Regions from separate parts of the Homo sapiens genome. Here regions 1, 3, 4 and 5 are each linked to region 2. The links are contacts of gene promoters, found by promoter capture Hi-C in blood cells and fetal thymus (Javierre and others, 2016). All regions are on one chromosome and are shown on one strand. Each heading gives the region's core, a stretch centred on a gene start or on the middle of the fragment in contact. The rest is flanking DNA. Distances are from core to core; before and after follow the strand shown.

Evidence for each region. Contacts are between HindIII fragments. The CHiCAGO score rates a contact against its expected background, and 5 or more counts as called.
Region 1: a contact is called between a fragment that was not itself captured here and the fragment with the promoter of HMCN1 in region 2, in 1 of 17 cell types (neutrophils). The highest score is 5.1, in neutrophils.
Region 3: a contact is called between a fragment that was not itself captured here and the fragment with the promoter of HMCN1 in region 2, in 2 of 17 cell types (M1 macrophages and megakaryocytes). The highest score is 5.5, in M1 macrophages.
Region 4: a contact is called between a fragment that was not itself captured here and the fragment with the promoter of HMCN1 in region 2, in 2 of 17 cell types (M1 macrophages and M2 macrophages). The highest score is 7.6, in M1 macrophages.
Region 5: a fragment that was not itself captured here is called in contact with the fragment with the promoter of HMCN1 in region 2 in 1 of 17 cell types (M1 macrophages); the score reaches 5.6 in M1 macrophages.

The regions. Positions count from the first base shown.
Region 1 is chr1:185,239,804-185,246,058 of GRCh38, reverse strand. The region is part of intron 16 of SWT1 (SWT1 RNA endoribonuclease homolog); the gene reads right to left. Among named protein-coding and RNA genes, the nearest start is that of IVNS1ABP, 74 kb to the left of the region's middle. The HindIII fragment of the contact is 6,721 bases long and covers 803-6,255 here.
Region 2 is chr1:185,732,475-185,737,894 of GRCh38, reverse strand. HMCN1 (hemicentin 1) reads right to left here and starts at 3,504. Exons shown (of 107, transcript NM_031935.3): 1 at 2,848-3,504. The coding sequence starts at 3,115. The HindIII fragment of the contact is 13,332 bases long and covers 1-5,420 here.
Region 3 is chr1:186,173,263-186,179,223 of GRCh38, reverse strand. HMCN1 (hemicentin 1) reads right to left here. Exons shown (of 107, transcript NM_031935.3): 103 at 4,582-4,710; 104 at 458-808. Among named protein-coding and RNA genes, the nearest start is that of PRG4, 120 kb to the left of the region's middle. The HindIII fragment of the contact is 261 bases long and covers 1,269-1,529 here.
Region 4 is chr1:186,192,492-186,197,942 of GRCh38, reverse strand. No RefSeq gene overlaps it. Among named protein-coding and RNA genes, the nearest start is that of PRG4, 100 kb to the left of the region's middle. The HindIII fragment of the contact is 6,841 bases long and covers 1-5,241 here.
Region 5 is chr1:186,133,015-186,138,698 of GRCh38, reverse strand. HMCN1 (hemicentin 1) reads right to left here. Exons shown (of 107, transcript NM_031935.3): 87 at 1,762-2,031; 88 at 1,031-1,201; 89 at 727-897. Among named protein-coding and RNA genes, the nearest start is that of PRG4, 160 kb to the left of the region's middle. The HindIII fragment of the contact is 996 bases long and covers 3,351-4,346 here.

The DNA.
Region 1 (6,255 bases), core at 2,914-5,413, 490 kb after region 2:
CGGTGGCTCACACCTGTAATCTCAGCACTTTGGGAGGCCGAGGTGGGCAGATCACCTGAGGTCAGGAATTCAAGACCAGCCTGGCTAACATGGTAAAACCCCCTCTATACAAAAATACAAAAATTAGCCAGGCATGATGGTGGGTGCCTGTAATCCCAGCTACTTGGGAGGCTGAGGTGGGAGAATCACTTCAACCTGGGAGGCAGAGGTTGCAGTGAGCCGAGATCACACCACTGTGCTCCAGCCTGGGCAACAGAGTGAGACTCTGTCTCAAAAAAAAAAAGATTATAATGTAAGATTATCAGCAAGAGTGGAAAAAAATTATACTAGAGCCGAAAAATTCCTATCACTTAGTAACTTCCTACTAGCACAACTCATTACTCATGTGGTTGTGGTGATGCTGGCATAAATAAACCTACTGCAGTGCCAGTCCTCTAAAAGTATAGCACATACAATTAAGTACAGCACATTATACTTAACAATGATAATAAACAACTATGTTACTGGTTCTTTTCTGTATTTACTATATTTACTCTACTATACTTTTTATTATTATTTTAGGGTATATTCCTTCTACTTATTAAAAAAGTTAACTAAAAAGAGCCTCAGGTAGGTTCTTTGAGAGGTATTTCAGAAGAAGGCACTGTTATCATAGGAGACAGCTCCATGTGTGTTACTATCTCTGAGGACCTTCCAGTGGGACAAGACATGGCGGTGGAAGACAGTGACACTGATGATCCTGACCCTGTGTAGGCCTAGGGTAATGTGTATGTTTCGTGTATTAGTTTTTAACAAAAAAGCTTAAAAAGTAAAAAATAAATAAAAATTGTTATAAAAAGAAAAAAGCTACAGAGTAAGGATATCAAGAAAGAAAATATTTTTATACAGTTGTACAATGTGTGTGTTTTCTAGAAAGCATAGATCTGAAAGGGGTGGTCCTTTTTTATTTTATTTTTAAATATAAAAAATCGTTCTTAGAGATGGGGTCTCACTCTGTTGCCCAAGCTGGAATGCAGTTATGCAATCATAGCTCACTTTAACCTTGAACTCGTGGGGGGCTCAAGCAATCCTCCTGCCTCAGCCTCCCAAGTAGCTGAGACTACAGACACACAACACCATGCCCAGCTAATTTTATTTTTTTGCAGAGACGGTGTCTCACTATGTTGCCTAGACTACTCTCGAACTCCGGGCTTCAAGCAAACCCCCTGCCTTGGCCTCCCAAAGTGCCGGGATTACAGGTGTCGGCCACCATGCCTGGCCATTGTTTGTGTTCTAAGCTAAGTGTTACTGGAAAAGAGTCAAAAAGTATTAAAAAATCAAAAGTTCATAAAATTAAAAAGTTATAACAACCTAAGGTTAATTTGTTATTGAAGAAAGAAAACATTTTTTAATTGAGTGGAGCCTAAGTGTACAGTGCTTATAGTCTATAGTAGTGTCATATCCAGGGCCTTCACATTCACTCACCACTCACCCACTGACTCACCACCCACCCACTGACTCACCCAGAGCACTTCCACTCCTGCAAGCTACATTGTGGTAAGTGTTCTATACAAGTATACCTTTTTTTTATCTTTTATACCGTATTTTTAAGCATGCCTTTTCTATGTTTACGTATGTTTAGGTACACAAATAATTACCATTGTGTTACAACTCCCTGTAGTATGTACAGTAGCATGCCATACAGGTTTGTAATCCAGCAGCAACAGGCCATTTACCATACAGCCTAGGTGTGTAGTGGGCTATTCCATCTAGATTTGTGTAAATACACTCTATAATGCTCACACAAGAACATGTATCCCCATCATTAAGATATGTATGACTAGCTGGGTGTGGTAGCTCACATCTGTAATCCCAGCACTTTAGGAGGCTGAGGCGAGAGGACAGCTTGAGAATAGGGGTTCAAGACCAGCCTGGCCAACACAGTGAGACCCTATCCCTATTTTTTTTTTAAGAAAAAGAATTATATATATTAAAAAAGAGAGAGAGATGTATGAGTGTATTTCCCTTTCTCTAGAATATAGGCAGCATGGGTAAATGGATGAAAGTCCATGAAAGAAGGCTGATCGATACATTCTATACTATTTTACACTCCAATAGCATACAAAACTGCTGACATTTTTATCAATAAGGTTTAAATAAAATCTGCGTAAAGTCACTATCTTTAATAATAAACATAATTTTGATTATTTTACTTATTTGTCTTATTTCAACAATTTGGCTGGAGAAAATATATAGCTACATGCTGTCAAAAATAATACATTAACTACATATATTTAAATAGTAATAAAGTAGCTTAATATTAGCAAAAAAATCAGACAATTTAAACTTAATAGTTCCAGTTACCTTATTGTTAAGAGAAAGTGTATATGTTGATTCTAAAAAGGTTTAACATGCCTTGTTAACAGGGATTGGCGCATCAAAATGTTTAATAATTCCAGAGGTTTCTGATATACGGTTAAGTATTTACTGAGTACCATCTATGTGGAAAACACTGTCCTGAGTTAAAATCAAACTTTTCTTACTATTGGAAAACACCCTTGAGGACATTGTATCACTTCTCACTACTGGCAGCTGGTTGGCCTACTGAGGTGCTAAAAGTTATTTAGAGGCACAAGAATATATTTCTCAAAATAGATAAAATTAATCCTAGGCCAGATGTGGTGGCTCACACCTGTAATCCCAGCAATTTGGGAAGCTGAAGAAGATGCATTGCTTGAGTCCAGGAGATCAAGACCAGCCTGGGCAACATGAAGAAACCCTGTCCCTACAAAAAGTACAAAAAATAGGCTGTGTGTGGTGGCACATGCCTGTAGTCCCAAGTACTCCAGAGGCTGAGGTGAGAGGATCACCTGAGCCCAGGAGGTGGAAGTTGCAGTGAGCTGAGATCACAGCACTGCACTCCAGCCTGGGCATCCGAGTGAAACCCTGTTTCAAAACAAACAAAAACCCAACTAGTTAGAATGTATCCTAGAGTATAGGGTATACTCTACCTTTACGCCTTTTATATAACTGCTTTGTAAGAATGAATTAGAACTGATCATCTGGCTTTATCCCATATACTTACTATACATACTTGTTATTTAAGTTAAAATTATTATGATAGCCCTTATTCAGACCCTTCTATTGATTTCTCCCTAATTTCATTTCTTTTACTGGTGTTTAACATCACTGACTTATTAGGTCATTTATTCCATCTGGTGGTTTTAGCATTTCTTAAAACGAGACTTAATAGCAAGGAATTTTAATTAAATATCAGAACAATAAATCATTAGGTAGAATTAGTCAGGTATAAAACAAGAAGTAAATTTTAAATAAAAGAACAGATTATAAATAAAAACTCCATAAACAAGTTAAAATATTTGTTGTCTTCAAGAAGTAATCTTCATATTATATTTAATTGCTTAATTTGGATGTGATTTGATAATTTATGATGGGATACATTTAACTCTGTCATCCAAAACTGAATTATACTGGCCAAGGGAACACTAACACCTAAGTCCACTCTAGGGGCGATGGGAATAACTGCGGCATTTCTCCGCTGATATAAGTATCAGCGGAGGTTACCTTAAAAGGTAAATATAAGGTCTTTATTTCCAATTCTTGAATGACAAATGCTGGGAAACACAGATAAGAGTTTTAGATATGTAAAATGAAATCCAGTTATTCTAAAAATTAAGTCATAGTGATGTATTATCTTCAGTAACATACAGACCCAGGTTTAAAAAAATCAGCTGGTTACTGAAAAATTCAGTCCGACTGATACGTGAATGCCACGTATTTTATCAGCTACTTTAATAAAAATTTTATTACATATTACATTTAAAATTTGATATACACATTAACTGTGCTTGTCAAACTGCAATATAGATACCATAAAAGCTCTTAATAACTGTCTATATTTTACACATATGACCTTATATGTGTCTATAATATAACAAGAACTGCCTGCTTATATTCCCTGAGTCTAACTCTTCCATTAGATCCTATCTTTCCTTCTACTAGCCCTATTTTACATAGTTGATCTAGAGAGTAATCCATAAGTAATAATCTATAGTTGATAAAGTAATCAAGGATAACAATGTAACCCGAAGAGACATTTGGGTGAATTACTGGAGGCTCCATCATCTGCTCCAGACATAAATGCCTTTTTAATCTCCTTAATCTCTCTCTCTTCCAGTCTTTCTCCTTCCTCCTGATTTTCTTATTCTTTAACCTTTCATAGCTTGCTCATCTCTCTTCTATACCTCTTTTAAAACCTCTACATTAACTATTCATCTAATGTCATAATGTAGTATAATTAGCATTCAGCCTTAAAAAAAGTTGCCTTCTATCACAAAGACTATAAAACACTCATTAAATAATCACTTACTGACCATCTACTATGTGTCATTACCTGTGCAAGGCTCCAGATACAGAAAAGTAAGACAGTTTCTGCCCTGGAGGCATTCAAAGTATTAAGGAACTGATTATAAAATAAATTATAAAAAATAAAATTATTTTTTACAAAATGGTGGCATGAAGGATGAAGCAACTAAGTCTTTTCATTTTTAAACAATAAATTGTATTATTTTTTCTTACTCAACAAAGCAACTGATATACTTGGTGATGAAAGGACAAGGTGTTGAAAGTCTGAGAAGGTAACTAAGTGATATCTGAGGAGCTGTGAAACCCTAACTGAAGAGTGGGAGGTGAAGCCTAATTATCTAAGGGTGAAAAGGCCAAGCCTCAAAGAAAGTAGGTCAGACACAAACATGAATAAACCCCTCCACTCTAGATAACAATGGCTGAATATTTTGCACACTGCAATGAGTTCAGAGTCTAAAAAGTCACTTCTAAACTTCAAAGGATGAAGTTTTTAAGGTCTTTATTTTCTACACATTAGCATGCCTGTGACAGAATCTTTAGTTTCAACAACTAGTTTAAAGAAGTAGCCTAAAGTGTGTTATCTTTGTGTAAAGTAAAGGATGACCTATTCTAAATAACCTTTTCCAAAATCTTAAGAGGTCAACTATCAATATATACAGTAAGTCAAAGAGGCGAAGTTAATAAAATTTTATCTCAAAAGCAAAAATCAGTATCTTTGAAGCATATTAGTGGATCTGAAAAGCTACTGTGATTTTAAGGTTTCTTTTCCCAGAAATAATGCATAAATATACCATATATGGTCTGTTCTTACGTTAAAATGGGGTAGGAGATTAAAAGGAAAATTAATTTTTAGAGGTTTAATAAGAAAACAAAATATATGCAAATCACACCCAAAAAACCCCAAACTTCATGACTGCAATTATTTTAGAAAAATAGCTGTCTAAAGTATTCCAAACTAAAGCCACAAGAATGTGACAGAGGTTATTAAAACTTAGAAGATTAAACAACTCAATAAAAATTAATCATCTTCCTTTCCTAAATTGAAACTGAGGTTTTATTTTCCAAAATCCTGTTCTATGATCAAGTACAAATGCCCATGCAGCATATGATTATGTCCAAACACAACGGTTAGCAGTCATTTATTGCTAAATTTAAATATGACCAAACAAAATGACAGCTAGAAAAAAAACTAAGCTATATACACTTGAGATATCTTTTAATATAAAAGCATGTCCTCAAAATGCACCTATTTATAAGGAATAGAAATTCCCTCTGCCTCTTTCCCACCCCAAATATGAGTCAAAATAATAAACCAAGAAAACACTCATTATCTCAAACATTTCAAATAAAGCTACTTCAGTTCATGAAACTCACATATGCAAAGTTTTACATGTTAAACCAAACATATTTGGGCATGAGCTAGTATATTTTTGGATTTAAAATATTACCTTTTTTTGTTTTTTAAAACATAATTTCTACCTTATTTTATAAAGGTGAAATACAAACATAAAACCTAAGCAAGTTAAAGTTTCTCACCTTCACCCTCCTTCTTAGCTTCTAAATCAGGCAGCTAGCTCATCATCTATTTCACAGAAACAGAAACATATCTACAACACTTGTATTGTTGCTTTGAATATTAGCTTTCAAGTTGAAGCTGCACGCATTTACAGTGTGCCTCAGAGTTGGATTACATGACCTGTTTAGTTAACTCTGCAAAGATGACAGTTTAAGCAAAAATACATGTAGACAATGTTTTTGATCAATATAGAAAGTAGAACTTTCCCTATTTTTAGAAATTTGCAATTCAACTCTCCAATTAATTTTGTTCCAAATGAAACTTTATCATCTTTATATACTAAGCAAAAGGTTTCTGTGGTCTTAAGAGTTACT
Region 2 (5,420 bases), core at 2,255-4,754:
TGTTTTAAATTTACTCCATCTGCAAATACACACCTTGCCCCAAACTGTAATGCAGGGCTCCAAAGCAATCATCTGCAAATATCTAAAGGTTTATATCAAAAGACATAGAATATATCCCAGAATTCATCCATTATTTCATCTAGCTAAATGCGATAGATGTCAAAGGGCTTATAAACATTCAAGATTATTAATATAATCATATTAAATTCTATACATTATTTCTTTCCATGTTGGTTGTGTCACCCAACCATAGGAATATGTGTTAGGCACTATGAAAACAACCATATGTAAAAGAGTCATTAACTGTCACATTAGAAGAGACCTTAAGAGATATTCACATAGAATTCTCTCAATTTATATAGTTGAGGATACTAAGATTCAGAAAGTAAATATAGTTTTCTAATGTCACTCACTAAGACAGCCAATTCCCATTTAAGGTCCTTCCTGTCATTCCAAGATGCTCCTGCCTGTAATCCCAGCACTTTGGGAGGCCAAGGCAGCACAATCACTTGAGGCCAGGAGTTCAAGACTAGCCCGGGCAACATAGTGGAACCCCTGTCTCTATGAAAAAAATAATTAGTCAGATGTGGCATGTGCCTGTTGTCCCAGCTACTCGGGAGGCTGAAGTGAGAGGACTGCTTGAGCCTAGGAGGTTGAGTCTGCAGTGAGCCATGATAGTGCTACTGCACTCCAGCCTGGGTGCCAGAGTGAGACCCTGTTTCAAAAAAAAAAAAATAAACAACAACAAAAAAACTACAAAGAGGCCAAAAACTCTTAATGATTATACACACACACCTACAGAGGAAAAATATCACACAAATAAAGTACTACAATCTAGTAAAGTGAATACTAAAGTTAACAGTATGTTTAAACTTCAATTTCTCTCTTTATTTTCAAAAATATTTTAAATAGCTTTAGATAACATGAATATTTGGCCACTTCTACTTTGAATCACAATGTAAACAGAATTAATAATTCTGTTGAATTATACACACAATTAAGTTTATGAAACCAATTTAAATTAGTTAACCATTTTCTCATATTACTGGATTCAGAAAAGCTCTAACTTATTCAGTCATCTGTTATTAGCATGTCAAGTTTCCCCAACTTTAAATCATGATTGCTAAACTACAGGAAAGTCAACTACAGCAAAGAGCAAACTCTCCCATTTGGTAACAATTGAAAGGCAGGGCACCACAATACAATTCATTCCAATAAGTTTTCATATCACTTCAAAATATCAGGATAGTCCGGTATCCATGTATAACTTGAGGCAATTTTTGTATTCTGTTTACAGCAATATAATTTCATAAGAGTTCTTTGGTGAAAAGCAAATCGTGGTGTTAGAGAAAAAACAAAATTTCACTTCATTTTTTAGCTAACTTCAGACTCATCCATCTAGAAGAAACATACTCAAGGTATTCCGAAATAACAAAAACCTCAAACTGCATCACAGTTGGCATCTTGACATTTAATACATTGAAAATCACAACATATGAAGTGTCTAAGACAGTAAACACAGTAAATAATCATTCAATTCTTTATTCAAATATAAATAATATTCATGTTTAACCAATGTAGAAATTACAAATATATGTAATTACATATATGTAATGTATGTATGTGTATGTGTGTGTATATATATATTACATATCCCAGAAGAGTAGTACAGATTGTTTTCATCATGTGAAGAGCATGAAAATCCGAGAGTTCTATATATCTTTAAATTTCTCCCAGTGCCATTGTTTAATAGTTAAAACCTGCCATATTTAATACCTACCAATAATTTGAACTTATATACTTTTGCTAAATGCACAGGAAGGAATTTCAGATTGCCGATATCACACTCTCGTTGTGAAGAGGTTGTGTCAAGTTCTTCTAGTGAAGGGAGAATTTCAAAAGCAGGAAAAGTGTGGGAGAACAGTGGGGGAGGACTGTTAAGAAATCACTGCTTCATTTCTTCAACTGGGCAGCAACTTGTGCTAATGAAACTCAGGTGGACATTAGACTGCCAGCCCCAGGGTTTCCCTTGCAAGGCTACCCTCAGCTATGGCAATGGGGGCTCCTATAAGCCTCACAGAGAGGTGCTACTTTAAAGAGAAACTGAAAAAAGTAAATAGGATCATATTACAGTGGAGCTGCTGAAACCTACGGCTTTAGGGCAAAAATGAAGTTATTTCACTTCAACTACCTTTAAAAAGCACAGACATTCCGAATTACAAGCAATTCTACCGCAGGAGACATGGATGTAATGTTTATACCCATCTGTGAACCTATCTAATGATGCCCTGGTGCAAAGATGAATAGATTCAGTTAAGAAATGATTGGTTTCTCTCTTTTCTTTTCATGTCTTCAGTTCCACTAGTAGTTACTACTTACAGGCTTCCTTGTGTCTCACACAACAGGTTTTTTCCCCTCTTAAATGAGAGTTACCCTCAGAGTGTGCTTTCAATCTGGATGTTAGCCCCTAGAGCTTCGCTGCTATAAATTCGTGTCCAAGTCTGCCTTCGTAATTAAACATGCTTTAGTTCTAAAATCTAAGTGAGTTAAGTGATTTTGATGTCGTTGCCCAAGATTTTTGGTTTTGTTTTTCGTAACTCCACATTTCCAGGTTTGAGGACCACAGTACAAGTTCCCTAAACAAGCCATCTCCACCAGGGCTGAGACTTAAGTAGGTATCAATGAGCAAACCCAGACGCCAGCAAGTAATTCTTTGTTACAACTATTTTCAGCTGCACATTTTTTTAAAATGGTTTTGAAACTTCCTGACAAACAATTTCATTCACAGCATGAGAAATAATGTAATCATGAGACATAGCAAAGACAAAGTATAAATATTTCCCTTACCTGGATCATGGAAAGGCACCAACGCAAAGTTGAAAAGAGGTCTTTTAGGTCTTTTCAAAGACGTCTCCAAAATTTTGGAAGCCCCTTCAATCACCTGAACTAAATCATCATACATAGAACCAGTCACATCAAACACAAAAGCCAACGTGGAGGCCCCCTCGGGAATTTCCTCAGCTCTGATCTCTGACTGGGGGCTCGCATCTTGAGCTAGGGAAGAATAAAGAAGAGCAAACAGGAATACTGTATGGACAACTTCCCAGGAAATCATTTTCTTTTTTTTCCCCCTCTTTTTCCCCCTCAGCGCCTAAGCACTGTGCTCAGTCCTCCTCAACAACAGGCAGAGGGTTTCCTCTCAGAGTAACTCATCAGACTCTTGGAATCTCTGAACTAGCAAAAAGTTTGGCGCTGAGAATCAGACGGGGACAAGCACCAAACTCGAATCCCTCCAGGGGTTGGGCAGGGCAGGGATGCGGCAGCTTTTGTCTGGATGCGGCTTCCTCCTGGACTGCTATCTGCCCGCGGGCCCTGGACAGCCTGTGGCGGAGTGCGGGCGGCGCGTCGGGTCCATGCCCCGGGGGCAGCTCTGAGCCTGCGGCGCCGCGGCCCGAATCCCGCTGCCCTCGCCGCCGCCGCTGCTCTCCGCCTGGGCCAGCGACTGAGGTTCCCAACTTTCCACTGTTTGCAGCTCACGAGCGACGAGGGGAAGCCTGGCTCGGCCTCGCCTCCTGATTGGCCAGTTGCCGTCCTCCCTCCTTTGCTCTGGAGGCCCCCCCGGAGGGTGACTTTTCCCTCCACTGATTGTAGGGTCAATTCAGTCCCAGGGAAGCGCTTACGGTGTCAGCTCGGTTCCCACCGGCACCGTTCCTAACCTGCAAAACGCTAGTGTAAACAATGGCTTTCAAGAATGTGTGGCAAAGACCCAAACCGAGGGACACCACACTAGCACAAAGGGAATTTTGTTTTTCTATTGTGTACAACGCGGCTTTAGACACCTCTTTCCTAATTCCCCCCAAAAGTCAAGACGCCCCAGCCCAGCCTCCTGCCTCTCAGCCCACAACTCGGCCCAGCCAGGAGGGGGAGCTGGAAAATTCTCTCAGCTGCGAGGCAGCCACACTATCGCTCTTTGATCTCCTCTGAGACTCTGGACTGCAGGGAAGGAAGGGAGGACAACGCTGAAGGGGCAAGAAGCCCAGGAAGAGGAAAGGGGCTGCTGAGGGAAATGAGAGACAAGAACTAGGTAGTCACTAACTGTAGAGGGGAATGTGAATACAGGATGGAAGCCCCGTAGAAAGGACAAGGAGGAGGGGCGAGAGAGGTGTGGGGAAAGATGAGACATAAAATTCATATTAAAGAGAAAATTGATTTTTTAATTGTATTATCAAGATTCACATTTGCTGAGCAGTTTGAATCCTACGCTCAGCATAGTAAGGCAGAATAATATCCCCGTTTCAGATTTCCTCCCCTGGAACAGTCATGCCTCAGGTCTCAGCCAAAGATCTATTGGAAAGGTGCTCCCCTCTATGGCATTTTCTTGCCAGTCAAGAAGGAAACCTCACCCTGGAAGACATGCCAACGTTTTTCCGTGTTGTGATTGCTATATACGTTATAGTACTAATAACAGAGATAAGAGGATAAGCAAAGAAAGTCTACCATGAACTAAGGATTCTTTATGTCATTTTAATAAAAACGCATTTCCTTCCTGGAAAAGGAGTTGTTGTCCAGATCCCAGCATTTAAAGAGGGGCAAACAGGCATCTTGATCTCTGTTTGGATGTATATTAGACCGCCCACCCAACGGAGATGCAGCCTGAGGAAGAGTTAGCTCCCACCAACCTTTTGTAATCTACAACTGTCTTCTCTTTCAGTCCCAGCGGCTGTGGAACCCGAGTTTATGATACCTATAAGTCATGTCACTTAAAGGAAGCAGACAGGCCATTTGGGCTGAGTGGGAATATGAGAGGAAAGGGGGAAGGTACTTCCTTCTCAAGCAGTATTTAGAGAATGCTATTTGAGTCTCCCATTCCGTTGTTTATTTAAAAAGGATTTCATTCTAAGTCTTAGAGACCTGAGCTATTCCAGGTGCTCAAGGGAGGCCACAGAGCCTAGTGATTAAGAGTTCTGGGTCAGATACCCTGGGTTGAAAGCCCAGCTGTGACATTTAACTGTGTGACCTTCAAGAAGGTTACCAAACTTTTTCAGACCTGTGTTTACTCAGCTGTAAATGGGAATAATGATAGCACCCACCTAATAAGGATTAAATGATCTATAAATGTTCCATGTGCACTTGAAAAGAATGCTGTTGGGTGGAATGTTCTATAAATGTTAATTAGGTCAAGTTGTTTAATAATGTTCCAATCTTCTATATCCTTACTGATTTCTGCCTATTTGTTCTATCAGTTTTTGAGAGTGGTATTGAAATATCTGACGACAATTGTGGATTTGTGTATTTCTTCTTGCAGTTCTATGAGTTTTAGCTTCATGTATTTGAAGCTCTGTGGTTAGTTACATAAGCACATAGGATTATTATGTCCTTTTGACATAATGGACATGAATTGACGCCTTTATCATTATGAA
Region 3 (5,961 bases), core at 150-2,649, 440 kb before region 2:
CAATGGGATGTTGGTTGTTATACAGAACAAGCAGTCGACCGAGAAGCTGAAACTTTCACTTTTAAACCACTGCTTTTCCATCAATCCGATGTGGCCATAATCTGATGGCATTACGTTATGTGGCAATATTTACATCCTCTTTTAAATAAACTACATTCTGGATGCCACTGAAATTTATTTCTATTTAGTATTAAGTTTAGTAACACCTTCAGGGTGACCAAAAAGAAACTGACTATAACACAATAAATTATTAGAATGCCCACATGTAAATCCATAATTCACTTGACTCAAGTCTGTAATAGTTTTAGGTGCCAAAATAAATGTCTTGAAATTTTGAGTCATTCCGAACTTGAGATCAGATGTAGTTCACTGCACTCAAACAATCACAGGTGCTGTACACATACTTTGATCAGTAAGAGAGCCCACAGAAAGGAAATGTAATATGGCTGACATTTACCTACACATGTGTCATGGCTTGCCTCAGAGCCTTCAGGGCAAGTTTTCCTAATAGTCCTTCTAGTCCTGGAGAGAGATGTTCTGCTGTTTCTATACTCTGAGTAGGAGCTGTAGAGATGTGAGTACTGTCTGTAATGCTGTTGAGGTTGATAGTTGTTTCTCACAGGGGAGAACCGTGCAAGGTTATAGCTACTGTATTGAGTGCCATAATTTGGCAGCCTCTCCAATCCAGCGCAAGATTTCCCGTCCCCTAATAAATGTTGTCCTGGTGGACAGATACACTTGAAGCTGCCGGGGGTGTTGGAGCACTGATGTGCACAAGGTTTAGGCACTTGTTCACATTCATTAATGTCTGCTCGTATGCCATGATATAAAAAAGAAAAAAAAAGACACATACATACACACACAAAACACAGGAATAAAGAATGAGTCTGTGAAACAAACTGAAGACATTGTTACCCTCCAAAGCCAGGCATACAGTAATTTCTCCTCAACTGTTGTGAACTTTTGACAAAGCTTTAATCATTCAGTTATGAACATAGGACAGATTCTGCAAATCTCCCCCTAAATACTATATTATATCCACACATTTTATTTGAACATTCACATTGAAGCAAGTGGCTCAGACAACAAGACACACTAGTTCTGTAAGTTCATACCCCTTTGACTCACTTATGATGGCCTTAAGACCTAGGGAGCTCTGTTTTCAGCCTTGTCTCCTTGATCAGTTTAAGCTACTTTGGTATACATTTTTACACGTAATTCTAAGAGTAACATTAAGATTTTAAATCTTAGAAATACTACACTAAGCTTTCTTAGTTCAACTAGGCAGAGACATCTTAAATTGTTAAAATTTGTGTATCTTCCTCTGGAAAAAAAAAAGGTACAAGAGAGTGTGGAATCACAAATGAATATAATTTTCATCAAACTTCACTTATAAAAAAGTCTCAAGATAGTACCTCTTAATACAATCATACGTGTACATTTGGGAAATTTCTCTCTTGTTTTTTCTCTTTTGACAAATATTTCAGATGGAATTCAGATTTTTCTACTGGTTGACAATGTTGGAAGCTTTCTAATATGTCCACATATAATTTTAAAAAAGTAACTACTTTTATGTTTATTTTAAAATTTTTATTTAAATGACTTGGTCTTTCTGCAAGCATCTTTGCCCTCCTAATTCTCCACATAGCAGCCAGAGTGATCTTTTCCAAATGTAAACCATATCATATTGCTTGTCTGCCCAAGACCTTTCATGTTTTCCCATCACATTCTTTATTATGGGCTCTTCATCCTCCTTACCCTCTGCCTACCTTTGCTCCAACAGCCTGACCCCTTGGTTCTTCCTTGATTATGGTCAGTGCATTCTTTTCTGAATGACATTGCCCTGGCTTCTCCTCAGCCTGAAATACACTCGCTCAGACCTTCCCATCGTGGCTGCTCTCTCTTTTTTTTTTTTTTTTTGAGATGGAGTTGCTCTGTTGCCCAGGCTGGAGTGCAGTGGCATGATCTCGGCCCACTGCAACCCCTGCCTCCTGGGTTCAAGGGATTCTCCTGTCTCAGCCTCCCAAGTAGCTGGAACTACAGGTGTGTGCCACCACGCCCAGCTAATCTTTTTTGTATTTTTGACAGAGACAGGGTTTCACTGTGTTAGCCAGGATGGTCTTGATCTCCTGACCTCGTGATCCACCCGCCTCGACCTCCCAAAGTGCTGGGATTACAGGTGTGTCCCACCACGCCCAGCTAATCTTTTTTGTATTTTTGACAGAGACAGGGTTTCACTGTGTTAGCCAGGATGGTCTTGATCTCCTGACCTCGTGATCCACCCGCCTCGACCTCCCAAAGTGCTGGGATTACAGGCGTGAGCCACCACACCTGGCCTGCTCTTTCCTTTTGTCCAGTCTCTCAGAGAGGCTGCCTGGATCACAGTGCTACCACCCCAATCTGGGTCTCTCTTTTATGTTTTATGTTTCCTTTCCTTTTATGTTTTATGTTTTATGTTTCCTTATGTTTCTCTGTTTTATGTTTCCTTAAAGTGCTTATCACTATCTGAAATTGTATATTTGTTTTGTGATTCTTCTTTCTCTCCCTGGAAGGTAAACTCCACGAGGACAGAGACCTGGTCTGCCCTGTTTAGCAATGTATTCCCACAACCTAGAACATCATCCAACACAAAGTAGGTGCTCAATAAACATTTGTTGAATTAATGAAGGAATGGGTTTGATATCATGTGCCAAATCAAGCTGTGAACAGTAGAAACAAAAAAGATCATATGGGAATACGTAGTCTTAAATACACGAAAACCAGAGTTCAAAAGCTAATGTAGATCTTAATTCTATCAGCAGAAGCAGAAATGAAATCACATCTCTAGTTTGTATTTAGTTATAATATTGGTAACTAGTGTCTCTAATCTTCCATACCATTATAAGTTTTAGAGGTAGGAATACTGGCAAAACTACAGACTTTAAAATTTTATTTTCTGAATTAATAATTTTGAATTAATGAACAAGCCAAGCACATTTTCCCCCAACAGATTAAAATCAAGGAAACAAGGACATAGAATCAGTTCTTACTAAGATATAAACTCACCAAACACATAAAATTTTAAAAAGTTATTTTCTTTCTATTGTTAGGTCAACACATGGAATCTGTACTTGCAATTCTTCCTATAAATTGGAAAAGGGAATGAAAACCAAATTCTTTAATTCATTACCACAGTGGCATGAAAGAAAACAATACAGGAAGGTAGAATAAAATAGTAAATTTTGCTTTAAAAACTATTTTAGTAGGTAAAAATTAATACTTTAACTCCTTTCTCTTTTTTTGAGACAGTTTCTTTAACTCTTTTCTTTCTTTCTTTTCTTTTCTTTTCTTTCTTTTTTTTTTTTTTTGAGACATAGTTTCACTCTTATTGTCCAGGCTGGAGTGCAGTGATGCAATCTCGGCTCACTGCAACCTCCACATCAAGAGATTGTCTTGTCTCAGCCTGCCGAGTAGCTGGGATTACAGGCGTGAAGCACAGTGCCCAGCCATTTTAACTCTTTTATTGAGGCAATGGTTCTGCATTCTTCCTTGTTTTACTCCCTAGCACAATGTCTGAGATCCAGCTGGTGGCCAAATTGGTGAATAAATACAACTATTTCATTCTGAAAAGTCACGGTTATGGCTGATCAAGATGTTAAACTATATATAAATGATAATATCTAAATAGAAGACTAAAATGATGATCTGTATTCCTGTTATTAAAAAGCATTTTCTTTTAAAAGAGTTTCTAGTAATGGTATTAGTTTGAACATTTGGTACATACAAAATATTATGCTAGGGATTGCATAAAGACAGAGCTAAGTCTTTTTGGGAGAATTTGCTATAAATAATCATTAAGTGGACAAGAAGGCAACCAATTTGAAAAGCATAGCGTGAAACCCAGAAGCTAGTATTTAAAAGCCCACAACATTATTTTAGTGCAATTGAATATTCTAAGGAAGACTACAATTTGATAGATCAGTTTCTTGATTATAAATGCATTAATTTTTACCAAAAGTATGTGGTTATCTTACAGATATTTTCTATTTGCCTTCATATTCAAATATAACTAAGATGAAAACAAACAGGCAACTGGGGAGAAATGAGATATTTTTAGCAAAGGGAACAGCACACAGTAAGCATTAAATATATGATAAAGTAATTATCCATTTATTTAAATTGTGTGTCCCTATTTTAATACCTCACACCTAAACTTTCATACTACATACAAATATACTTCATGCTCAAATAAAATGTATCTATGCAAACATTTATGTCATGTGCATAGAGATATAATCAATGAGATAATCTTGATAATTAAGTTGTGATGGCAATTATATCAGAACCTCACTTTGATATGTGTGGTGTATAGCAAGCACAGAGTAAGTGATTATTATCACTTGAAATGTCAGTGTAAATTGAGCTCAATATGAAGTCTCTGAAGAAGTATCCAAATTGTGTTGAATGACGTAAATCAATTCACATACCTTATTATTGTAACAAGAGACCATTTGAGGATAGAGAAAGTGGCCCTAAGCGAGTTGGTAAGGCTAGGTAACTACATCAGTAGCTTTATTGCTCAACAAGTTCCTATTAACTTACCCATGCAGGGTCTTCCAACTCCTTGAGACCGATAACCTCTTGGGCATACACAACGATAGCTGCCTCTTGTATTCTCACATATCTGGTTATATCTGCACTGATGGGTCCCATCTTTACATTCATCAATATCTACAGACATGGAGGCAATGAGAAGTAACATTTCCTCTTTCAAACCCAAAGTCATTGTATTTAAAGTCAGCATTCTGTAGAATTGCCAAAGGTTGCATTTCTCACCAAGTGGTTGAGATCATACCAGCTTACAACTTGGAATCAGAAAACCTGGGTTCAAGTCCCAGCTCTGCCACTTATTAAATGGCTGCTTTTCCTCCTCCTGCTCCCTACTATGGAGAGAGTTTTATTCACAGATTTCTTTTTTTCTCCTTCTCTATATCCCTTCCTCCTTTTGCCATCTTATTTATACAAGTGATTAGAGTTTAGGCAGATTGAGAGCAATAGTGCTACATTGCTTCTGATCTACAGTCCCATGTTTCTAGCTGCTAGCTGGACATCCCCATCTCTCTTTGTTTTACCACTAGTTCAAACCCAGCACACCCTCAATGCCTTAACCTTACTCCCCTATTTGTGATAACAGCAGGCCTGTGTTTCAAGTCCATCAAGCTTTAAATGATAAATTATGTTCTGTATTCCTGCTATGGAAAAGCATTTCTTTTAAAAGAGTTTCTAGTAATAGTATTAGTTTGAACATTTGCTATATACAAAGTACAATGGTCAGTCATCTTTAACTTATTCTCTCAGTTGCCAAGATTGGGTAGTTCTATTTCCTTCAATCAAAACCATGTATCTCCACATTTCCATTCCCACTTAGCTAGATTTTTGCTGTAGCTTCTTAAAAAGTTTCTGATCTTTCAACTCATGTCTAGTTAAGCTTATACATAATTAGGGCCAATATTCTGAAAAATATTTACAGTTGCATGTAACTGTACATGATGCTCTGAGTTGGCTGCTACTTTTTTTTTTTCTTTTTTCTTTTTTTTTTTTTTTGAGATGGAGTCTCGCTCTGTCACCCAGGCTGGAGTGCAGTGGCATGATCTTAGCTTACTGCAACCTCTGCCTGCTGGGTTCAAACGATCCTCCCACCTCAGCCCCCAGAGTAGCTGGGACTATAGGCATGCGCCACCATGCCCAGCTAATTTTTGTATTTTTAGTAGAGATGAGGTTCCACCATGCTGGCCAGGCTGGTCTAAAACTCCTGACCGAGTTGGCTGCTACTCTTAAATGATAAGGAAAGTATTGACCTATATCTATAGTGTAAGAGCTGAAACAAGTCTTTGAAATCTGATACTTCAACTCCCATCACCAGTTGTTGTTTTTTTAAATTATACTAAACCACCATGAACTTAACAACTATCAACAAATGGC
Region 4 (5,451 bases), core at 572-3,071, 460 kb before region 2:
GGTTATTTGGGGATAGGGCCTTTAAGGAGGTAATAAAGGTTAAATGCAGTCATAAGGGTGTGGTCCTATGTGAGTAAGACTGGTGTCCCTGTAGAAGAGGAAGAGACATCAGAGATGTGGGGGCACAGAGAGGCCATAGGAAGACAGTGAGAAGGCGGCCATTGTAAGCCAAGGAGCAAGATCTCAGGAAAAACCAAACCTGCCAACACCTTGATCTAGGACTTCCAGCCTCCAGAACTGTGAGTAAATAAATGTTGTTGTCTAAGCCACCCAGTCTGTGGTATTTTGTTATGGCAGCCCTAGAAGACTAAGTCAACTCCTCTTGTTCATCTATTATCCCCCTTTCTATGCTTTAGAGTAAAATCTTTTCATGTCTTTTAGAATATTGCTCTACTCTCTCTTTCCTTTATCTTTAATCACCCTATAGCCTTTGGCTCTTTCTTATATTAAAAACAAAACAGATAGACCCAGTGTTTCCTCTGTCATCAAACATCTCCCCCATTCTTTCACAGTTTGGGAAGAAGGAACCCCTTCCCCCTCTTTCTGGTACCCATTTCCAGTTCTTGCAGCACCTTGTAGCAGATTCCTAGTTGTCTTTTCTTCTTCATAGAACAGAGCATGGAGTTCAACCAAAAAACTATCTTTCTCTGCTTTTCTTCTATCTATTAAGTTCTTGCTCATGAAATATAAATAACAATATTGTGTGGGAATTTCTGAGAAATTTTCTTAAAGGAAAGGGTGTGTCTTACGTCCTTTTGTCCTCCTTACTCTCTGAAATGTGGACTCTTTTCTGCTTCTCTCAGGTGGACTTAGGACTCTGTTCCCTATCTTTCCATTGTACTTTGTACTGACTTCTATTGTAATTACTATAATAATTTATAATTGTTTATTTTTACATATGAATTCTCACTGGGCTATAAATATCTTTAAATGTTTGGATTTCTCATGTTTATCAGTGAGCCCAGCACATAGTAGACATTCAGTCTATACTTTTTGAATAAATAAATGGATGAATGATTGAACCTATGGATTGCTTTGATCATTGTATTAGTCCGTTCTCAAGCTGCTATGAAGAAATACCTGAGATTGGGTAATTTATAAAGGAAAGAAGTTTAATAAACTCTCAGTTCCGCATTGTTGGGTAGGCCTCAAGAGACTTACAATCATGGTGGAAGGCACCTCTTCACAGGGTGGCAAGAGACAGAATGAAAGCCGAGCAAAGGGGGAAGCCCCTTACAAAACCATGAGATCTTGTGAGAACGAATTCTCTATCGTGAGAACAGCATGGGGGAACCACACCCATGATTCAATTATTTCCACCTGGTCCTGCCCTTGACATGTAGGAATTACTAAAATTCAAGGTGAGATATGGGTGGGAACACAGAGCCAAACCATATCAATCATGATAAAGTTTGGGTTTCTTTTTATCTTAATCCATTGATTAGTCAGTCATCCTTGCACTTAGTGTGTGGGGTAAATATTAGTTAGAATGCTCCATGCTAAGAGCAGTGCAGGATAATGGATGAACTGGATTCAAGGCTCTTGCTGTCTAGTAGACAAGAAAATGCATGTGCCAAGCAACCATAATACAAAGCAGAAGGTAAGAAGTGCCAAATGAGAGGTACGGAGATAGACTGACTTAAGAGATGGAAGAGAGACCTTTTGTTTAAAAGATTAGGGAAGACTCTATGGAAGATGTGGCATTAAATAGGGCTTTGAAGATGGCGAGAAATGAGTATGTGGAATTGGAAAGGAGAACATTCTAACATGTAAAAATAGAAGAAAACCTGGATTATGGAAAATGTGTGGTATCATTACATGGAAAACAGGGTACATACAACAGAATTATTATGACATAAATACTGAAAAGGTAAGCTGGGGTCCAGTTATGGGGAAATCTGGGATTACCCTGGATAAGGGGAGCCACTGCAGGTGATTGTTTGTGAGGGCTACAGTGACTCAGGTCTTGAGACCTTCCAGATAAATAACCAACTGATTGTCAGTCTTTCTCTGTGATTTCAGTTGACTTAATCATGACTGTAAAACCTCAACCTCCTGCATAGAGAAGGTGGAGTGCTAAAAACTTTTTTTGACATCACATCTCATTCCTTCAGATTCATCAGAGGAATTCAGAAACTGTTAACAAAATGTTAGACCAAACCCCTAGAGTATGCATAGCTGAACTCCAACAGTTGGTTCTGAAGGATAAGTAATATCTGCAACCACACTAATCTTCAGAGCTGATGTCCCAGTGTATTGGGAGACCTGAGGACTTGAAGGCACTTTGACGAAGCACCAAGCTGAGCAGTATGGTCACCTTCATACTTCAGTGGTAACGGTTGGAAGTAAGCAGATGTTTCTGAACAGATTAAGAGGAGTTTCCTTATTCAGAGTATTGGCAAGTGTTAGGTTTTGTAGTCAGATGGACTTGGGTCCAAATCTTAACTCTGCATCTCCTACTAGTGATGACTCTGCAGCTAGTTATCTAATCTCTGAGCTTCAGCTTCCCTCTCTGTGAAATACTGGCTTATAATCTTTAGTTCGTGGTGTTGTGCCATGCAATGTTTTTCAAATTACCTTTGGTAATTTTTTTTAAGTTCCAATCTGTTTTTTTTTTAAGTTGTAGTCTATTATAGATGGTTACTTTCATAGAATATAATACAAATAACTAGAAAAGTAAAATGAAAAAGATATATAAAATATATGCTTTGTTTCTTTTTTGTTATTGGATTCCACAGACATGAGTCTGGCTGTAGGTCTAGGAGCAATAAGGGGTAATGGGGACAGTTCCAGAGAGGATCATCTGTCTTTTGCAACAGACCTCAAGAGAGGCCATTACAGGTTATTTAGGCAAGGAAGACTAAATTCAGAGAAGAGGGAAAGCTGTTGGCAAGGAAAACATATCAAATTTGGAGTTCAAGGTTTCCAGCTTCATCAGAATCTTCTCATATGTCTCCATCCCAAATTTTAGGGCCATACTTCTTTTTCAATCCATGTCCTAACTTTATCATAAGAGGCATCATGGGGCTGGGAATTTAACTCGCATCGTAATTCAGCCACTCTCAGGATTAGTTTGTGTGTGTGTGTGTGTGTGTGTGTGTGTGTGTGTGTATGTGTGTGTTTGGAAACCTTAGCCCTGCAGTTATAAGAGATAAAGATTTCTTTTGGGTCACCATTCTACTTCATTTCCCTTTTGTGTTGGGAATAAAGCCCTGAGCTCATTATTTTCTTTCTTCAGTGCACTTAGAAGCAAGCAGGCAACCCTATTGTGCTCTCCATTTTCACTAAAATAATCCATGAGAGGAACTGAAACCCACAAACATGGATAGAACCCATGATGGACTAGAACCTGTGCTGGTCTCTGTATGAGTCAGCTCAGCTGCCATCACAAAGTACAAGTGACTGCGCAGCTTATGCAGCAGAAATGTATTTTCTTACAGGTCTGGAGGCTGGGAAGCCCAAGTCAAGGTCTGGCAGGGTTTGGTTTCTGGTGAGCACTCTTTCTGGCTTGCAGGTGGCTGCCTTTTCACTGTGTCATCACATGAGAGAGAGAGATCTCTGGTGTCTCTTCTTATAAGGGCACTAATCCTACCCACCCTTATGACCTCATTTAACCTTAGTTACTCCTTAGGCCTTATCTCCAAATGCAGTCACATTGAGGGTTAGGTCTTCTACGTATACATCTGGGGGAGACAATTCTGTCCATAGCAATCTTTCACCATCTTTAATTTTCCAACTTCAATGATGTAGGTCTCATGCAGGAAAAGCTGGGGTTCTTTGTTACAGGTGTAGACACACATCTAGCTCAGGGATTGTAGAAGATGAAGGATCCAGTGGGAAGTAGAATGGCTGTGGGGCCACCATTGTCCTGATCCACCGAGAGGAGCTAGCAGATAATGATGGGGTCCATGACTTGCAACAGTACCTGGTACCCCTGCAGTGACTTTCCAAGTGTAAAAGCAATGTGGCTGCAGCTTCACTTATACTTTTCAAATCTCATGCTACATGTCTCATGTGGCCTATGCTCTGAAACTTTCAGAGACAGGAAATGTAGTTCCAGCTTACCTAAGCTGACATAGTAGGGAGAAACTAGATCATCTAACACATTTAGGTTATAAAAGGAAAGAAGAATGGAGAGTTATTGATGGAGTGATGTGATCTGATAGGTGTTTTTAAAAGACCAGTCTTGTAGAAAATGGAGTACAGCAGAGCAGGAGTGGCGGAGGAACTTGGGTAGGAGTGCATCATGTGACAATGGTATGCCTAGGATGGTAGCAGGGGAGACGGAGACTTCTATTTTGATGGACTGAATGTGTACATTTTAGGTGGTGAGAAGTTAGTGAATCCCAGGGCTTCAGTTGGGGTGATTAGATGAATGGTAGTACAATTAATATAGTTAGGAAAGACTAGGGTAGGAAAAGGTTTGGAGGATCATTCGGTAGGCATTCAGGTATTCAGCTGTAAATAGAGACAGTCCAACAAATAATTGTTTAAGTAAGGAGATTTTAGACTCAAACGATTACAAGTCCTGGGGTAGTTATTCCAGTGCTGCAGAGTGGTTCAACAAAGTCATATAAAAGGTTTCAGCACCCCCTCCCCCATCCTCTCCCCTCCCCCTCCTTTCTCCTTCCCTTCTCCCTCCCCTCTACCTCCCCTCCCTCCCTCCCTTCCTCCTTCCCTTCTCCCTCCCCTCCTCCTCCCCTCCCTCCCTCCCTCCCTTCCTCCCTTCTCATCCTCAGGGTGGTTGCCCCATTGTTGCAAGATGCTTGGCAAATCTCTGTCCACATTCTGAGTATGGAAAGATTGAAAAACACAGGCCAAACTGGTATGCCACAAAGACTACCCCTTTTAAAGCGATTTCTGCTTACATCTTATTGGACAGAATGGAGTCACATGCCCACTGCAACTAGACAGCTGCTAGAGAGCAGGAGATATGTGGTTGGGGTTTGGATCAACCATATGCTGGATGTGTAAGTCTGAGTGAGTTAGTTAAGGAGCCAAGTGAAAATGTCAGGTAACCAGCCGGACAAATGGGTCTGTATTTTAGGAGTGTCAATCTTTGGCCTACCTGACTCACTCAGATGAACTGAAATGTGAAATGGTAAGTTCTGGTAAATGTGCTGTTATCCTACCCTGCAAAGCATGCTCCTGTGTGCATGTGTGCATTTATGAAGGGAGAGTGGGGCTTGGATATGACTGCCAGCCTAACAGCTAAGTCTGCAGCTGGGTTAATGTAAAGCTTGAGAACAGGTTTTAGAGATGTGGAAGGCTTGCACGTGCTGAGGCCAGCAGCCTACTACAAAACTGGTCAGAGCCTTGACTATCATGTGTGCTCTGAGCTCAGATTGGGCTGTTGTGAATGATAAAAAGATTTATACCCAGTTTGTAGATCAGAGGTAAACTATGACCTGCAGGCTAAATCCAGCCAGATTTTGTAAATAAAGTGTTACT
Region 5 (5,684 bases), core at 2,599-5,098, 400 kb before region 2:
CTTTTTCTCTGAGGCCTCACTTAGATTATAAGGCCCCTGTGAGCCAGTAGCTGTCAGCAGCCATTGTTTCCACCACATGGAAAGAGTTTAATAGAGAATAAAGCCAAAGAGAGGAAAGTAGAGATGAGAGATGGAAAACATGCTAGTAAAAGCACTGTCCAAATCCTTGGATTCAATTATACCTGAAAATTTTCTACTTGGACTTGTTTGATTTGTCACTTTAATTGGAAAGAGTGCTAAAACACAAAATCAATAACAATACACAATATTAACAATATAAAGCACCTAGCATGGTTCCTATTATGTGGCAAGTATTTAGTGAATGACAGCGATTCGTATTTACTCCTCACCAGTTGTGTGTTTCTGGGCAAGTCTTTAACCTCTCTAGGGTTCATTTTTCTCACCTCGAAATGGATGGCTGGATTAGATGTTACTTTATGACCTTGTAAATACTTATGTTTTCTTTACGTGATTGAGAAATACACTCCAGTTTGGACCCTTTCTTCAAGTTCAATTAAAGCAGGTATTTTGCTTAACATCAATGAATGCCATACCTTTACAAGTTTATCCATGAAAGAGAACTAAGAATATAGTGAATGAACATATTCTCAAGGGTAGAGGCCATAACATCTTTTTACAATGAAGAAGAAAAGGCAAATGTAATTCTTTCATAGGGGTTAAGATAGAAAAGTTTTGTTTATCTTAGCATTATTGGTGGTTTCTCACCTGGGCAAGGCCTAATGTTGCACATAATTATTTCCACAGCATTCCCTTCACATGGCCGCCCACCATGCTGAACTGATGGATTATTGCAAGTCCTGGTCCTGGTTTGGTTGCCGCGTCCACAGCTCCTTGTGCATTCTTCCCAAAGACTCCATTCCGACCAGCTACCATCCACTATACAAAGGTGAACCATTACACCATCAGGTATATTTCAATTGGGAATACTTACACTGGGGCAATCCATAGGTAGAAGACAGAAATGAAGGTCTATTAAACACATGCCTATCAGTTAAATAAGGAGGTGTACCTGGACAAGGCTTATTTTGACAGTTTCGCATTTCCAAATCTGAACCTTGGCAGGGCTTCCCACCATTGGCTGGAAGGGGCTGGTTGCACAGACGACTCCTCTTTTGGATGCCTTTTCCACAGGTGACACTGCAGGCTCTCCATGCAGACCACTGGGAAAATCCACCATGAACTGCAAATAAAACATTGTACTTTGTCTAAGCTTTTGCAAATAAAACATTGTAAAGGAGATTTCATTTAAGATATGCACGGGTTACAGAGCTAAATATATAGTTGCTGAGAAATAGCGTATGGAAGCTCTCCTTTAAGGAAAATTAAAATCCAAGAGAGAGAGAAGAACTTCAGTTAGCCAAAGTTTCTTCTCAGATCGAATCCTCACTCACTTGCACATGGCTGCTGGAAGAGTTAGAGACCAACAAGTTTACAAACTGTTCACCTTTTGGACATAAGTCATTCTTTGCAGCAAAACATATACATTGATTTCTAAGAATAGATTTAGTTGTGAATCAAAAATCTAGTTTGGGATTTTAAATTAAAACCTTGGCATTTTAAAGCTCTAATCTGTGTTGGTTTAGGCCCTTCAATCTGTAAATTTTGATGATTTTGTCCTCTCCCCATCATCTAAAAGTATGTTAAGGTGACAGGAGACTTGGACTAAAGTGCTTAATAATTTCCATGATTTGAGTCACCCCAGGTACTGTTTACTATGAATATTCCTCTGATCACACTCACCCTGGACTATGACTGGCACTCTGACAAGGACAGAACCCATTAAGTTTCGAGCAACACATTCAAATTCAGAGGTATCTTCTTTCTGAGCATCAGCAATATATAATGAGTTGTTGGACAACACGTTAACCCGGTCATCCCAGGAAATAGAGTGCCCTTGACGGGACCATGTAATGGTTGGTTGAGGCTCTCCAGTTGCCTGACAATTCAATATGATTTTGCCACCAGCATTAATAACAGTTTCCACTGGCTCAAGAGTGATAATAGGAGGACCTACGGAAAAAAGCACATAGTGTCTCAGTTTTTGTGGAGTTACAGCATTTTTTTTTATCATGTATTATATGGCGACATTATTTTGAAAAAAGTGATTGATTTGTTTATAAAACACTGTTGCTTCCCAACTAAGATTATAGATTATAATTGCCATTAATACAATTTTCATAATTCTTTTTTATTTAGTAAATGTCAAAAATTTAAAATTCCTGAGATTAGCCTAGAGCATGGGCTCTAGAGTCATGTTTCCTGGATTCAAATTCTGTGTCTGCTCCTTACTACCTCTCTGAGCCCCATGTCCTTAAAAATGGTGCCTACTTCAGAGGATTCCTGTTAGACTCAACAAGAGGATGTGACTACAACTTTTGAACAAGGTAAGCACACAGTGCTCTTAGTTACTATTATTTTTGTCTGTGTTTTATATGGTGAATATTCACTTTTTTCTTTTGATCATTTTTGAGGTAAAGAGTCATTAACTCATTCTTTTTTTTTGAGCCAGAGTCTCCCTTTGTCACCCAGGCTGGAGTGCAATGGCACAATCTCGGCTCACTGCAACATCTCCCTCCAGGGTTCAAGCAATTCTCCGGCCTCAGCCTCCTGAGTAGCTGGGATTACAGGCACCCGCCACCACGCCTGGCTAATTAACTCATTCTTTTACCACTGGCCATCATTTATTCAATAAACATGTACTGAAAGCCTGCTATTTGCCAGGCATTGTGGTGGATGCTGAGAGCATATAGAGAAAAGATATTCTTTCTAGTCTCAAGGAGCTCACAGTCCACTGATAAGACAGACTTGTGCTATAGCATACCTATGGAACTAACGTGTACTAATATGGGAGCATAAACCATAGAAATAATAGATCAAACAAAAGCATGCCACTGGAAATGGAGGGGAAAAGGAAGACATATCCAAGAATTATTAAGAAAGTAGAAATGATAGAACTTTGTTACGGATTGGTATGGGTTAAAGGGAAGAACTCATGACTGCAGGGTTTTGATTTGGACAATATGGTATATTTGGGCAATGCAATAGCACACAACAGGAAGAACAGATTTGTGGATAGGGAGTAAGGAATGATAATTTGCATCCATTTAGAACTGCTGAACTTGAGGTATCTCTAAGACATTCATATAGCGATGTCTACATGACAGGGATATTCATATCTAGAGCTCAGAATAAAGATGAGCAAGAAATATATATGTGTGAGTCTTTCATAGTGAATAAGATTGCTTCAGAAGAGAGTCTAAAATGAGAAGACGGCCAAAGACAGAAACCATTGCAACAGCATTATTTAAGAGATGGACAGAAGACAAGCTTATAAAGATACTCAGAACGAATCACTGAGGTAGGAAGAAAATCAGGATAAAAATGGTATTCTGGTAACCAAAAAGGAAGGAGGGAGATATTAACAGTGTCTATAGTGAATGACAATGGCTGAAGTAAAGTCCTTGGAAAGATTGTAAAAGGAACTGCATGCAACTGCTGGCAGAATGTTTACGTCTATATTGGTCTACAGTGCCAAGACAGATGACAGAATATGACAGACTTCATTGGGAAAAAGAGAGTTGAACTGGATTTTCAAAAATAAGTAAGGTTATTTGAACAGAGAGGAGAGGGGAGAACACTTGGAGAGAAAGACACAACATGGAGATGGAGTTAGCTCTTTTTCTTTTTCAAGACAATGAACAGAATAGAAAGGAAGGTTCACCCTGAAGAGTAACAGCATACAGGGTTGTGAACATTGGTTCAAATCCTAAAATAAGAAAGGTTTTCATTTAAATAAGAAAGCAAACGGGGCAGCATATACATTCTTGAGAAGGAGCATGATGGGATGAGAGCAGTGTTTTAGTGACATTGAACTGAAAGGCAGAATGATTTGTTCAGTGAGAGGTAATAGATAATTCAAGGTTGTGGCTGCATATTTTAGACTGAGAAGTGTATCTAGAATAAATAGAATACAAATAAGACAAAAATAGAACAAAAATGTGTTTTGTTGTGATATTAATATGTTAGTTTTTTTCTGCAAAGGTATCCGTGACATGTTGTCTTTTAAAAAAGTAATTCCTTCATGTGAGGTTTGACTCTCTTAGCAAATGTCATATAAAGCATTACTCTGACTTATGCTCATCACCCTACACAATGCCTTCTAACTGATGTTTATATTAACCTCACTCTAGAAACTTTCAGGGCCAGTGCTTTTATTTCTCTCCTAGTTTCCTGATTACATTATGTATTCAATAAACTGTTGCTGCATAAAGTAAATACCTCAGGTTTATCCCTCAACACTAAGTGACAACATGACTAAATAAGCTTGTCTGCTCGTATTAAAATGGCTAAATTATCAAATAAACTCAGAACCTTAATTTAGATACCATCCTTGAACATTCCCAATTGCATATGAAGCTATAAATTAATACAATAAAATTCCATATGTACATACTTCAATTGAATTAATTTCATCATTCACATAATAAATATGAACACTTTAAATAAAAATATCGCTTCTGGTACTTTAATCCTAATTTGAACCAAATTATATTTTTGACTATTTAATATGCCTCACTTACTAAAATGAATTTATTGTCAATATGTGCAGATGAGCTGCTCTAATGTAGCTTTTTTTAAACTGGGTCAGTGGATTGTGTAGTGTTCTACCTACGTTCACTCAACATTTATTTGGAAAATGTGGCATATTATATTCTCTCCTTGTTGAGCCATAATTCACACCAACATATTAACATTTCTGGAAAATCTGCAGTAAAGAAATTTGGTATGCCTAAGGAGGGCTGAGCACATAGTAACTGTTCTTTATATATTTAATAAATAAAAGAACTCTGTTTAATTCATTTTTTCTCAGGTTTGTTTGAACATAGAACCCTATTTTTTCCTAATGACATCCCATGTTATCATTTGATAGATATGTTCTTTAGTGAAACATTGTATTAGATACTTATTAAATGTCTATCCATCTATTCGAGTCTTACAGAATTATATAGTTTGGCAAACAGCTAACTAATCTAGAGCATCTCTCAATAGTGATGAAGAAAATGTAAATTCACCCTGTTAAATACTGAGCCTAGTCACAAAATGACTTGACTTGCTTAAATTCTCAACCCAGTGACATTGTCTTTGGGTCAGCCCCTTAAGTGGTTCTGTAAACTCTCCAGTGGGCCATTGGATTATTTTATGTTTATCCAATTATGGATGCTCTGTTTTCCGATGACTCTTACTGAAGGGCTTCCTGATGAGCATGAGAATCTCACCCAGAACGTTTAGTTATTTCATGAAAGATGACAGCCATCAAGCTGGAGCACTTTTGAGCTCCTTTACATTAGTCTTTATTTTTAATAAATATCTTAAAGTGCCATAAATGGCAATCTTTTTAAGCATGTTGGAATAACTGTGGTGAATTGTAAGAAGGGGCACTCCATTGAATATGCTGTAATTAAAAAGCTCTGCCACCTTTATAGCAGCATGATTTATAATCTTTTGGGTATATACCCAGTAATGGGATTGCTGGGTTAAATGGTATTTCTAGTTCTAGATCCCCAGGAGTCACCACACTGACTTCCACAATGGTTGAACTAGTATTCAAAACTTGGAACCAACCCAAATGTCCAACAATGATAGACTGGATTAAGAAAACGTGG